2 separate regions of the Homo sapiens genome follow, and region 2 is linked to region 1. The links are contacts of gene promoters, found by promoter capture Hi-C in human tissues and cell types (Jung and others, 2019). All regions are on one chromosome and are shown on one strand. The core of a region is centred on a gene start or on the middle of the fragment in contact, and the rest is flanking DNA. Distances in the headings are between cores, read along the strand shown. Region 1 holds the start of OR1K1 (olfactory receptor family 1 subfamily K member 1). Region 2 holds the start of OR1L4 (olfactory receptor family 1 subfamily L member 4).

Region 1 (5,528 bases), core at 2,516-5,015:
AGTGCCTGGCACAGAGCAAGTGATCAATACACATTAATTAACATTGATTTATGGTGTAGTGAAAAGAGAATGATACCGAGGACAGGAGAATTACAACTTAAATTGGCCGGCAGAAGGAACAAGGACAGGTCTCCTCACTTCTTTGAGAATCAGTTTCCTGATATCCAAAATGGGGGTTTGGCACTGGGCTATTGTGGGACCCGGAAGAGCTTGTGCTTCTGGTCGTGGTGATTCTGTAGAAGGCACTGACCATGCTGAGGCAGAGGTAGCTTGCTGGTCTGAGTCCAGGGACAGAAGCTACCCTGTCGGCAGTGGGGACCAGTGAGAGTTAGCTGCCCCTTCAGTGATGCGGCCTGTTCTTGGGTTGAAATCTGAGCAGAATGGCTGGGGCAGGGCTGGTGGCCTGGAAAACAGGAGCACTAACAACCCCCTGACTCTTCCGTGCCCCTTTCCCCTTCCTGATGCGGATGACTCACCTGGAAGATCATGAGACGCACAAGGCCACAGCACGTCACAGGCATGTTCTCTGTGCTAGGTTCAAGGGACCCAGAGATGCCTCACGCAAGGACCCTGATGGTCAGCAGCTGACTCCAAGCCATAGGGCAGGGCTGGTGGTGCAGGTGTTTCCAGGCACAAGTGAATGTGCATCATGGCCGGTATGTTTTTGAAGCTTTAGAGAAGGCAGAGCGGAGGAAGTCGATCATGGGGCCAGGGGACAAGTTATTGACAGAGTAGCAAGGATCTGGCATCACAGCACAAACAAATAACCTGGGCGTGGGAGGGAGGAAGGGAGGCTGGGAAAGGATGGTCTCTATGTCATGGCAGGGCCAGGCTTTGGGGCACTGGCAGGTTGAACAAGGAAGCCCGAAGTTTGCCACTGACTTTGTGTGATCTTGAGCAGGTCCCTTAACCACTCTGGGCCTCAGTTTCCCCATTTATCAAGTGAAGGTGTTCGGTTTGATCAAAGACCTTTCAAAGTGGGGGTGGGGAGAAGCATCGACGGTGGATTCTGGGCCTCCTTTCACCCTCCCTCATCCACACTGCATGGCTTCTCCCCCACCCTGTTTTACAGATTGTGTTTCTATGTAAATAACGTGTTTTTGTTGTTGTTTTCTGTTTGTTTTGGTTTTTTTTTTTTTTTTTTTTTTTTTGATTAAAGCTACCAGTCTAAAGACCTTTAAGGTCCTTTTTGATCTAAACAGCATAGTGTAGCAGCTCTGGGACTGGGCGGTGGCAGCTCACCTGTGTGATCTGGAAGGGGCTATTGCTAACCTGGCTCTAGGATCGCTGTAGCTCTCTCTCCTTCTCTCTGGAGCAGCGGAATGGGGGTAGGAGTGGAGTTGGGACTAGGGGATGGGGAAGTGGGTGCAGATTTCTTAGAGAAACAGAGACCTAAAAGCTCCTGCCTCACATACCTGTTTGGTAAAAACTTGGGCACCATGAGGCCTTTTCAGACCCCAAAATGTGTCCTTACTTGAGGCAGCGAACCTGCCCTGGTCTGAGACTTCTTCCTGCAAGTGCTTCCACTGAGACACCAAAACCTGGCGTGTGGATTCTATGGGGCCCATTAAAACACACCTGCATGACCCATGTGGCATAAGGGCTTGTTCTGGCTCTGACACTGACTAGGTTACCAGCTTTGAGCCTCAGTTTCCTCATTCATAAAGTGGCAATAAGAGTACCCATACTTTTTGTGGGTAAAAATAAGTGAAGTGCTGGCATACGATAAAGACTTATCCAATGCTTGCTCCATCTGCCCCTAACACCTATGCCTCCTCCTTCTCAGCTTTGCTTTGTTTATTCATGACTGTGCGTGTCCACAACGTGCTCCTTCTACAGAATGCCAGGTGGGGCAGAACAGGTGCCATGATAGCAAACAAGGGAAAGAACAAAGAATTAGAAGAACGGACTTCTTCTAAATGCATGTTAGTATGAACACAGAGTCATTTATTCATATTAGATGTGCAGAGGGCCTCCTGTGTGCCACACTGAGCTCATTAGGAGGGGCTGGCCCTTCACACATGAGTGTGTGAATTTCTCTATTCCAGTCCCAGTTGAGAAGTCAATTTATTTGAGAACACATGGCCATATGACTGAAGAGAAAGTGCTCATCCACACAAGGCATGTTCTGCGGATGTCACACCCTCCTGGATTGCCCTCGGTCTGTAGGAAATGGTGGAATGCATTCTAAATGCCTAAGAGTGATCATCAGAAGAGCATGATGTGGCAGAAGGGGTGCAGGTTTTGCTTTCTAAGAACTGTGTGAATTTGAGAAAGTCACTTCTTTTTTTTTTGAGATGGAGTCTTGCTCTGTTGCCCAGGCTGGAGCTCAGTGGCACAATCTTAGCTCACTTCAATCTTCATCTTTTGGGTTCAAGTGATTCTCTTGCCTCAGTCTCCCGAGTAGATGGGATTACAGTTGTGCGCCGCCATGCTTGGCTAATTTTGGTATTTGTAATAGAGACAGGGTTTCGCCATGTTGGCCAGGCTGATCTTGAACTCTCGACCTCAGGTGATCCACCACCTCGGCTTCTCAAAGTGCTGGGATTACAGGCGTGAGCCGCTGTGCCTGGCTGGAAAGTCACTTCTTATCTTTGAGCCTAAAGACAAATTTTCTTGTGTGTAAAACCGGATCATAATATCTGCATCCTGGGTGGCTGTGGGAATAAAATGAGATCAGGCAAGGATCTGCTTCCGGGCAGGTGCTCAGGAAATGACAGCTGTTATGATTTTTGAGCATAGCAGAGGACAGAGGGTCACGTTCAACAGTTGCCAGTGTGGGTGATGCAGTCTGTCCTCAGTGGGGTCCTGCCCTCAGGAGTCACTAGCTGAGATCCTTCGCCCAATGAGAAGGGCTCGGAGTGCCCCCTGTACATCGCGATTCCAGAGGCTGTAGATGATGGGGTTCAGCATGGGGGTGACTACAGTGTACATGACAGTGGCCACACGGCCCCACTCTGCCTCGCGTCGGGATGTGGCCTGGAAGTAGACTGCAATGACTGTCCCATAGAAGAGGCTCACCACAGCCAGGTGGGAGCCACAGGTGGACACAGCCCGGAGCCTCCCAGAGGCTGAGGGCAGCTGGAGCACGGCAGCTGCGATGGCCCCATAGGAGGCGAGGATGAGCAGGAAGGGAGTGACCACCACTGCGGCGCCCTCGGTGAAGATGAGCAGCTGGATGTGGTGGGTGTCAGAGCACGAGAGCCTTAAGAGAGGCTGGTGGTCACAGAAGAAGTGGGGCACTTGGTGGGAAGCACAGAAGGACAAGCGAGCCATGAGCAGGATATACAGGAGGGAGTGGACGTGGGACACCAGCCATGCCATTCCCACCAGGGCTGCGCACATGGCCCGGGACATCCTCGTGGCATAGGGGAGGGGGTGCCGGATGGCCACGTAGCAGTCATAGGCCATGGCCGCCAGAAGACAGCTATCAGTTACCCCCAGGGCAAAGAAGAAGTACATTTGGGTCAGGCAGCCAGCCAGCGAGATGGAGTGGTCATGGGCCAACAAGTTGGCCAACATCTTGGGCACAGTGACGGAGGCGAAGCAGAGGTCAGCAAAGGACAGGTGGGCCAGCAGGAAGTACATGGGTGCATGAAGGGCTGGACTGGCCTGGATGGCAGCCACAATGAGTCCATTACCCAGGAGGCTGGCCACATACAAGAGCAAGAACAGCACAAAGAGAGGCCGCTGCTGTCCAGGACTTGTTGTCAGTCCCAATAAAACGAATGAGATTCCCTCTGAAGACTCATTGGCAGCCTCCATGGCAGGCTGGTTATTCGCCTGGAACCTGAAGGGCTCCTTTCTATTGATGGGTCACCTCCCCGATGTCTAACGGAAAAGGTGAGGGGATAAATTGTTCAAGGCTTCCTGGCCATGGGAAAATATCAAGAGTTTAGAGTCAGGTAGCCCTGGCCCTAGGCACAGGTATGACTATGGGCAAGTCATTTCACCTCCCTGAACCTTCTTCCTTTCTGGGCCTTAGATTTTCTTTTCTTTTTTTTTTTTTTTTTTTGAGATGGAGTCTTGCTCTGTCGCCCAGGCTGGAGTGCAGTGGCACGATCTCAGCTCACTGCAAGCTCCACCTCCTGGGTTCACGCCATTCTCCTGCCTCAGCCTCCCGAGTAGCTGGGACTACAGGCGCCCGCCATCACGCCCGGCTAATTTTTTTTGTATTTTTTAGTAGAGACGGGGTTTCACCGTGTTAGCCAGGATGTTCTCGATCTCCTGACCTTGTGGGGCCTTAGACTTTCAACCTGCGAAATAAGAGAATTGAAGTAACTCATCTGCAAGGTCACGTCCAACTTTGATAGTTTGTGATTTAAGCAAAAATAGAACAAAAGATATTGCACAAGATGTAGATCAGGGAAGGAGGAAAATATGAAAGAAAAGATGAAACAGAGTGAGGTTCGACACAGAAAGATCTGGCCAATGGACATTTATTTTGGAAAAGAAAAAATGAAACCAAACCAAGATGGAGGAGAGAAACATAAGAAAGAAACTCTAGAAAAAAAATCTGAAGAGCACATATGTTTACATTGAAATGAATATGAACTCACAACACCTAGACACAAATAGTGGAATTTTAGAACACTGGAAATGAAGAGGAGACTCCAGTACTTCCTAAGGGCATGGGGTGCAATGAACTGATGATATCCATGTAATTAGATTGCCATCAAATGTTTCAATTCAACAGTAGATTATAGAACAGTTTAACAATATTCAAATTCTGAAAAAAAGCATTTCGAACTTGGAATTCTTCACTCAGCAAAAATACTACTCAAGTGTGAGTAAAGAATACAGATATTTTCAGACTTAAAACACAAAACAAGGCCGGGTGCAGTGGCTCGTGCCTGTAATCCCAGCACTTTGGGAGGCCAAGGTAGGAGGATCACCTGAGGTCAGGAGTTTGAGACCAGCCTGGCCAATGTGGTGAAACCCCATCTCTACTAAAAAAAAAAATACAAAAATTAGCCAGGTGTGGTGTCACGTGCCTGTAATCCCAGCTACTTGGGAGGCTGGGGCAGGAGAATATCTTGAACCCAGGAGGCAGAGGTTGCAGTGAGCCAAGATCGTGCCACTGCACTCCAGCCTGGGTGGCACAGTGAGACTCCATCTCACACACACACAAAAAAAGAACAAGAGAATCTGAATGACTCCTCATATCCCTGAAAACTTTCCCCATGAAATCAAACACTTACTGAGCACCAAGCAGATGCACATCACAGGGTGAGAAACTCCTGTGGACAGATGGACACATCTGCCCAGGCATAGCGACTTGACTCTTAAGGAGAGAGGCAACTTGTTTTCAATGTCTCAGTTTTTTTCCTGTCTGAATTTCATTGCAGAAATCTTGGGCAATTCTGTAAGAAGAGAATTGAAGTAACTGAGAGGAATTTTAGGGCACAGGTTTGCTGAAGACTGTGCTGAAACCACCTTTACAGGGAAATGATCTTTTAATTTATTTCCACATCTTTCTCTATTAAAAAAAAATCAATGAAGGACCTCCCTACCCTATCGTATTCCTT
Region 2 (5,213 bases), core at 1,127-3,626, 76 kb after region 1:
TTTTTTTTGTGATGGTGTCTCGCTCTGTTGCCCAAGCTGGAGTGCAGTGGCACGATCTCGGCTCACTGCAATGTCTGCCTCCCAAGTTCAAGCAATTCTCCTGCCTCAGCCTCCCGAGTAGCTGGGACTACAGGTGCACACCACCATGCCCGGCTAATTTTTGTTTTTGTATTTTTAGTAGAGATGGGGTTTCACTGTGTTAGCCAGGATGGACTTGATCTCCTGACCTCATGATCTGCCCGCCTCAGCCTCCCAAAGTGCTGGGATTACAGGTGTAAGCCACAGTGCCTGGCCCAAAACGGGAAAAAATTTTTGCAATCTATCCATCTGACAAAGGGCTAATATCCAGAATCTATAAGGATCTTAAACAAATTTACAAGAAAAAAAACAACCGCATCAAAAAGTGGGCGAAGGATATGAATGGACACTTCTCAAAAGAAGACATTTATGCGGCCAGCAACATATGAAGAAAAGCTCATCATCACTGGTCATTAGAGAAATGCAAATCAAAACCACATTGAGATACCATCTCATGCCAGTTAGAATGGGGATCATTAACAAGTCAGGAAACAACAGATGCTGGAGAGGATGTGGGGAAATAGGAAGGCTTTTACACTGTTGATGGGGATGTAAATTAGTTCAACCATTGTGGAAGACAGTGTGGCGATTCCTCAGGGATCTAGAACCAGAAATACCATTTGACCCAGCAATCCCATTACTGGGTATATACCCAAAGGATTATAAGTCATTCTGCTATAAAGACACATGCACACGTATGTTTATTGTGGCACTATTCACAATAGCAAAGACTTGGAACCAACCCAAATGCCCATCAATGATAGACTGGATAAAGAAAATCTGGCACATATACACCATGTAATACTATCCAGCCATTAAAAAAAGGATGAGTTCATGTGCTTTGCAGGGACATGGATGAACCTGGAAGCCATCATTCTCAGCAAACTAACTCAAGAACAGAAAACCAAACACCACATGTTCTCACTCATAAGTGGGAGTTGAACAATGAGAACACACGGACAAAGGGAGGGGAACATCACACACTGGGGCCTGCCAGGGGGTGGGGAGCTAGGAGAAGGATTGCATTAGGAGAAATACCTAATGTAGATGACAGGTTGATGGGTGCAGCAAACCACCATGGCACGTGTATACCTATGTAATGAACCTGCACGTTCTGCACATGTATCCCAGAACTTAAAGTATGTGTGTATATATATATGTGTGTGTGTGTATACATATATATATATATATATATAAAGAAACTGAGTGTTTTGCTCCCAGGTTAATTCTCTTACTGATATCCAACACCACTTTTCATGACCTCTTTGAATGCCATGTGGAAAAGGGTTAGGAAGGGAGGATAAACTGATAATAATCTTTTAGGTCATGTCCTGATTTTGACATGCCAACATTTTGTTCTTTCTATGAGTAAATTCTGTGTCTTAATTTCTTCAAACCCCTTTTCATATCTTTGTTCCTCAGGCTGTAGATGAAAGGGTTCAGCATGGGTGTCACTACTGTGTACATAACTGTGGCTACCCGGCCCTTCATCACTGAGTACATGGACAGAGGCCTAAAATAGACATAGATGACACTCCCATAGAACAGGACCACTACAGTGAGGTGGGAGCCACAGGTAGAGAAGGCCTTCCACTTCCCGGCTGCAGAGGGGATTCTGAGCACAGTGACGATGATTTGCAGGTAGGAGAAGATGGTACACAGGAAGGGGGTCACAATGACAGCTAAGGTCTCAGTCATCACCACCATCTGGCTGGAGGATGTGTCAGAGCAGGAGAGCTTTAGCACAGGCTGGGTGTCACAGAAAAAGTGCTTAATGATGTGAGAGGCACAGAAAGACAAGCGAGACATAAGTAGCACGCGGAACAGGGAATGTAGGTGGGAGATGCTGCAAGAACCCAATAGCATGAGTAGGCAATGCCATGGTTTCATAACCACATCATAGTGTAAGGGGTTGCAGATGGCCACCAGCCGGTCGATGGCCATAGAGGCCAGCAGGTAGCTGTCAGTGTTCCCAAATGCCATGAAGAAGTACATCTGGATCAGGCAGCCCACATAAGAGATAATCTTTGTCTCTGATAGAAAATTCACCAGCATCTTAGGCACTATGACTGTTGTGAAGCAGATATCCATGAAAGACAAGTTGCTGAGAAAAAAGTACATAGGGGTGTGGAGCCTGGGGTCAGAGTAGATGGCCAGGATGATGAGCACATTCCCCACCGCAGTGAGTAGGTACATGATGAGGAAGATGGCAAAGAGAGGTTTCTGCAGCTTAGGGTTGGAAGAGAGGCCCAGGAGGATGAAGCCTGAGGTGCTGCTGCTATAATTCTTTGTCTCCATGTCTCTGGACTTCCTGGATAGGGTTTAGAGAAGCAATGGGAGAGATGTAAAGGACAGTTTGACCAAGACAGCTTCTTCCCCACCTCAAATCTATTTTAAAAATCTTACTGCTATTATACTTCGAAAGAACATTTAATTCTGAAACTACATAGAAACAGATAGTAAAATTCAACAAAAGAAAAGTTAAAGGATGCCAAGCTGTCTTCTAAATTAGAAACTAAAGGTTTTCCATGTGCTCATAGGAACTTCTATGTGGCCTAATTTGTTTGAGTTCTTCTCATTTCCTTTTGTAAAGATTATTCTGAGGTTGTTTCTTGACCATCTCCTTAGTCTTATTATTGTCTTTTTTGTCCCGGGGAAGAGGTTGCTGGATTCTACTTAGAATTAGAATGCTGTCATACAAGGAATCCCTATGAATGAAGTTATCTCTTTCAGCATTCTCTCTTGCTCATAGGTCCATAGATGGTAGTAGTAGTTGGGATAGAACAAAACTAAGCAACAGAATTAATCAAGGCTCCTTGGTAATTGCAGAATTCAGATAATACTTTCTTTCATCTTCAGAAAAACATTTCTAATGTTTATTTAAGCATTTCTCTTTGGCTAATATGATCTGATGCTTTATCATCTTTTGGCCCAAGGATACCAGTTAAAATTAGAGTACTCCCAGAAATAGCCTATGTAAGCAAGATTAGTTCTTTGAATATATTAATTTTTCTGGTTAAAACACTATGAAGTCCTCATTCTCAACATTCAAATATTGCAGGACTATAAAACATAGACTGTAAGAGTCCTATTTCCACCAATATCATGGAAAGAGAAGGCAAAGATAGCCCTATGACCAATATTAAGCTACATTGCTGAGATGGTTGACTGAGTGAGTAACAAAGCAAAACTAAAGCATCAGGAGGCATAAACATTAAAAAAGAAGAAAATGTCATTTTTTTGTGGCACGATTGTGTACCAAAAAATTCAAGATAATTATTTGAAAATCTTTTAAAACCTATGGCAATTTCACCAGTGGCCAGATGCGCTATAAAACTAAAAGTATTAATTATCTTTCTGTATTAGACAAATGTAATGAAGAAAAGGTTTCAATTGATAATGGCAAGAAAGTCTAAGTGATACTTAGAAATTAACCTGAGGGACAAAATAAAAGAATGAGTAAGACCTATCAGAAGAAACTATAATAGAACACAAAATGAATATCTGAATATGTGGAGAACTATACTCCTGAAAAGGAAGACTATATTTTAAAATATGAATCCTTATTAATAAAATTCAGTGTACTTCTAATAAGACCTGAAGGGAATTTTTAATGGAAGTTGAAAAGATTATTCTAAAATTCATCTAGAGTATTACATGGCTAGAGACAGACAACATTATTTTGGAAACATTAGAATAATGATGGGAAACTTTTTTAACCCCACATAAAAGCACAGTATATTGATAATCAATAAGATAATGACACACATAGGGAAAAATAAAAAACTGACCAATATAAAGCATTTTGTATATCTATATGCCTATATTTAGATCATGATCTATATTAAACTTAACATATAATAAAGATTTATTTCATAGCAATGGAAAAAGAATGGGCTATAAAATAAATGCTATTTATGACAACTGGAACATTTGGGAAAAAATAAGCCTAAACTTCTTTGTAACTCACAAATAAAAATAAGTTATCAGATTGGCACTACATTTTTGGGGATCATATCCAAAGGAAAATAGACCTTCACATATGCTGAAAGTGTGAATCAGTGTAGGCCTTTTGGCCATCTCTGTCAAGAGTTGGAAATCTGCATCTCTTTATCCAATGATTCTACTTATAGCACTCTATCCTTTAGAAGTAGTCATATTTGTGTAGTACACAGTATGTGTTGCTTGTAATACCAACCAAACCAACCAAATAAACAAAGCAACCCATAGAGGGAACAATCTCAATATGCACATGTAGGTGAAAGACTAAACAATTTATGGTGCAGTTCCTGTTACTCAATAGCATGCACTCTCTAAAGAAATAAGATGGTTCATGTTAGCCAACAATTATTAGCACTCAGTACATGCCACATACTGAGCTAGGTGCTTTGTCTGTTTTTAAAAATCACTGTATTCTCCCCAAATCCTAAGTGATAGGCACTATATTCCAATTTTATAGATTAAAAGTTAGAGTTTAGCCAAGTTGAGTAACTTACCAGATCCCGCCATGAGTAAGTGGTAGAGCTGAAATTTGAATTCAGGCAGTCTGATGGCAGAGCTGGAGCCATTTATTGCCAAGTGATGCCATCACTATTATACCACTGTTTGATGTTTTACTAAGTGACAAAAGTAAGTTGCAGAACAATGCATATAGAATAATCCTATTTTTGTAACAAAAAATAACTCTTATATATTGTGTTTACTTTGGTGTGTGTGTTTATGTGTATATGGCTGCCTCTTGAAGTGGGTTGGTGTGAGAAGTAACTTCCACATTTAACTTTATATTACATATATATTTATTTATTTAATGGACAAAAGTTGTATATATCTATAGTGCACAACATGATGTTTTGAAATATGTATACATTGTGGAATGGCTAAATTGAGCTATTTAACATATGTGCTCTCTCACATAGTTATCATTTTTTTGGTGTGGTAAGATTATATTGCTTGTATTTAAAAATAATGAACACGTGATTTTTTACATGAATTTTATAATTAAAAGGGTGAAAGTTCTGAACAATTTCATCCCCCAGCCAACTTTTTCTCTCCATAGATCTATATGCACACTATATATTGTATTGGAGCCATACTATCCCCCACAGACTGTTACAATGGATGTTTTTGTGTGTATT

What was found. The method cuts DNA at HindIII sites, captures the fragments that hold promoters and counts their contacts. A contact is called where the count stands out against the background at its distance.
Region 2: a contact is called between the fragment with the promoter of OR1L4 here and the fragment with the promoter of OR1K1 in region 1, in 3 of the 25 tissues and cell types used here (heart right ventricle, liver and mesendoderm cells).

What each region holds. Positions count from the first base shown.
Region 1 is chr9:122,798,360-122,803,887 of GRCh38, reverse strand. OR1K1 (olfactory receptor family 1 subfamily K member 1) reads right to left here and starts at 3,765. Exons shown (of 1, transcript NM_080859.1): 1 at 2,815-3,765. The coding sequence starts at 3,765. The coding sequence ends at 2,815. RefSeq lists an enhancer at 1-957. The HindIII fragment of the contact is 19,122 bases long and covers 1-5,528 here.
Region 2 is chr9:122,721,153-122,726,365 of GRCh38, reverse strand. It overlaps OR1L4 (olfactory receptor family 1 subfamily L member 4), which reads right to left and starts at 2,376. Exons shown (of 1, transcript NM_001005235.1): 1 at 1,441-2,376. The coding sequence starts at 2,376. The coding sequence ends at 1,441. The HindIII fragment of the contact is 15,967 bases long and covers 1-5,213 here.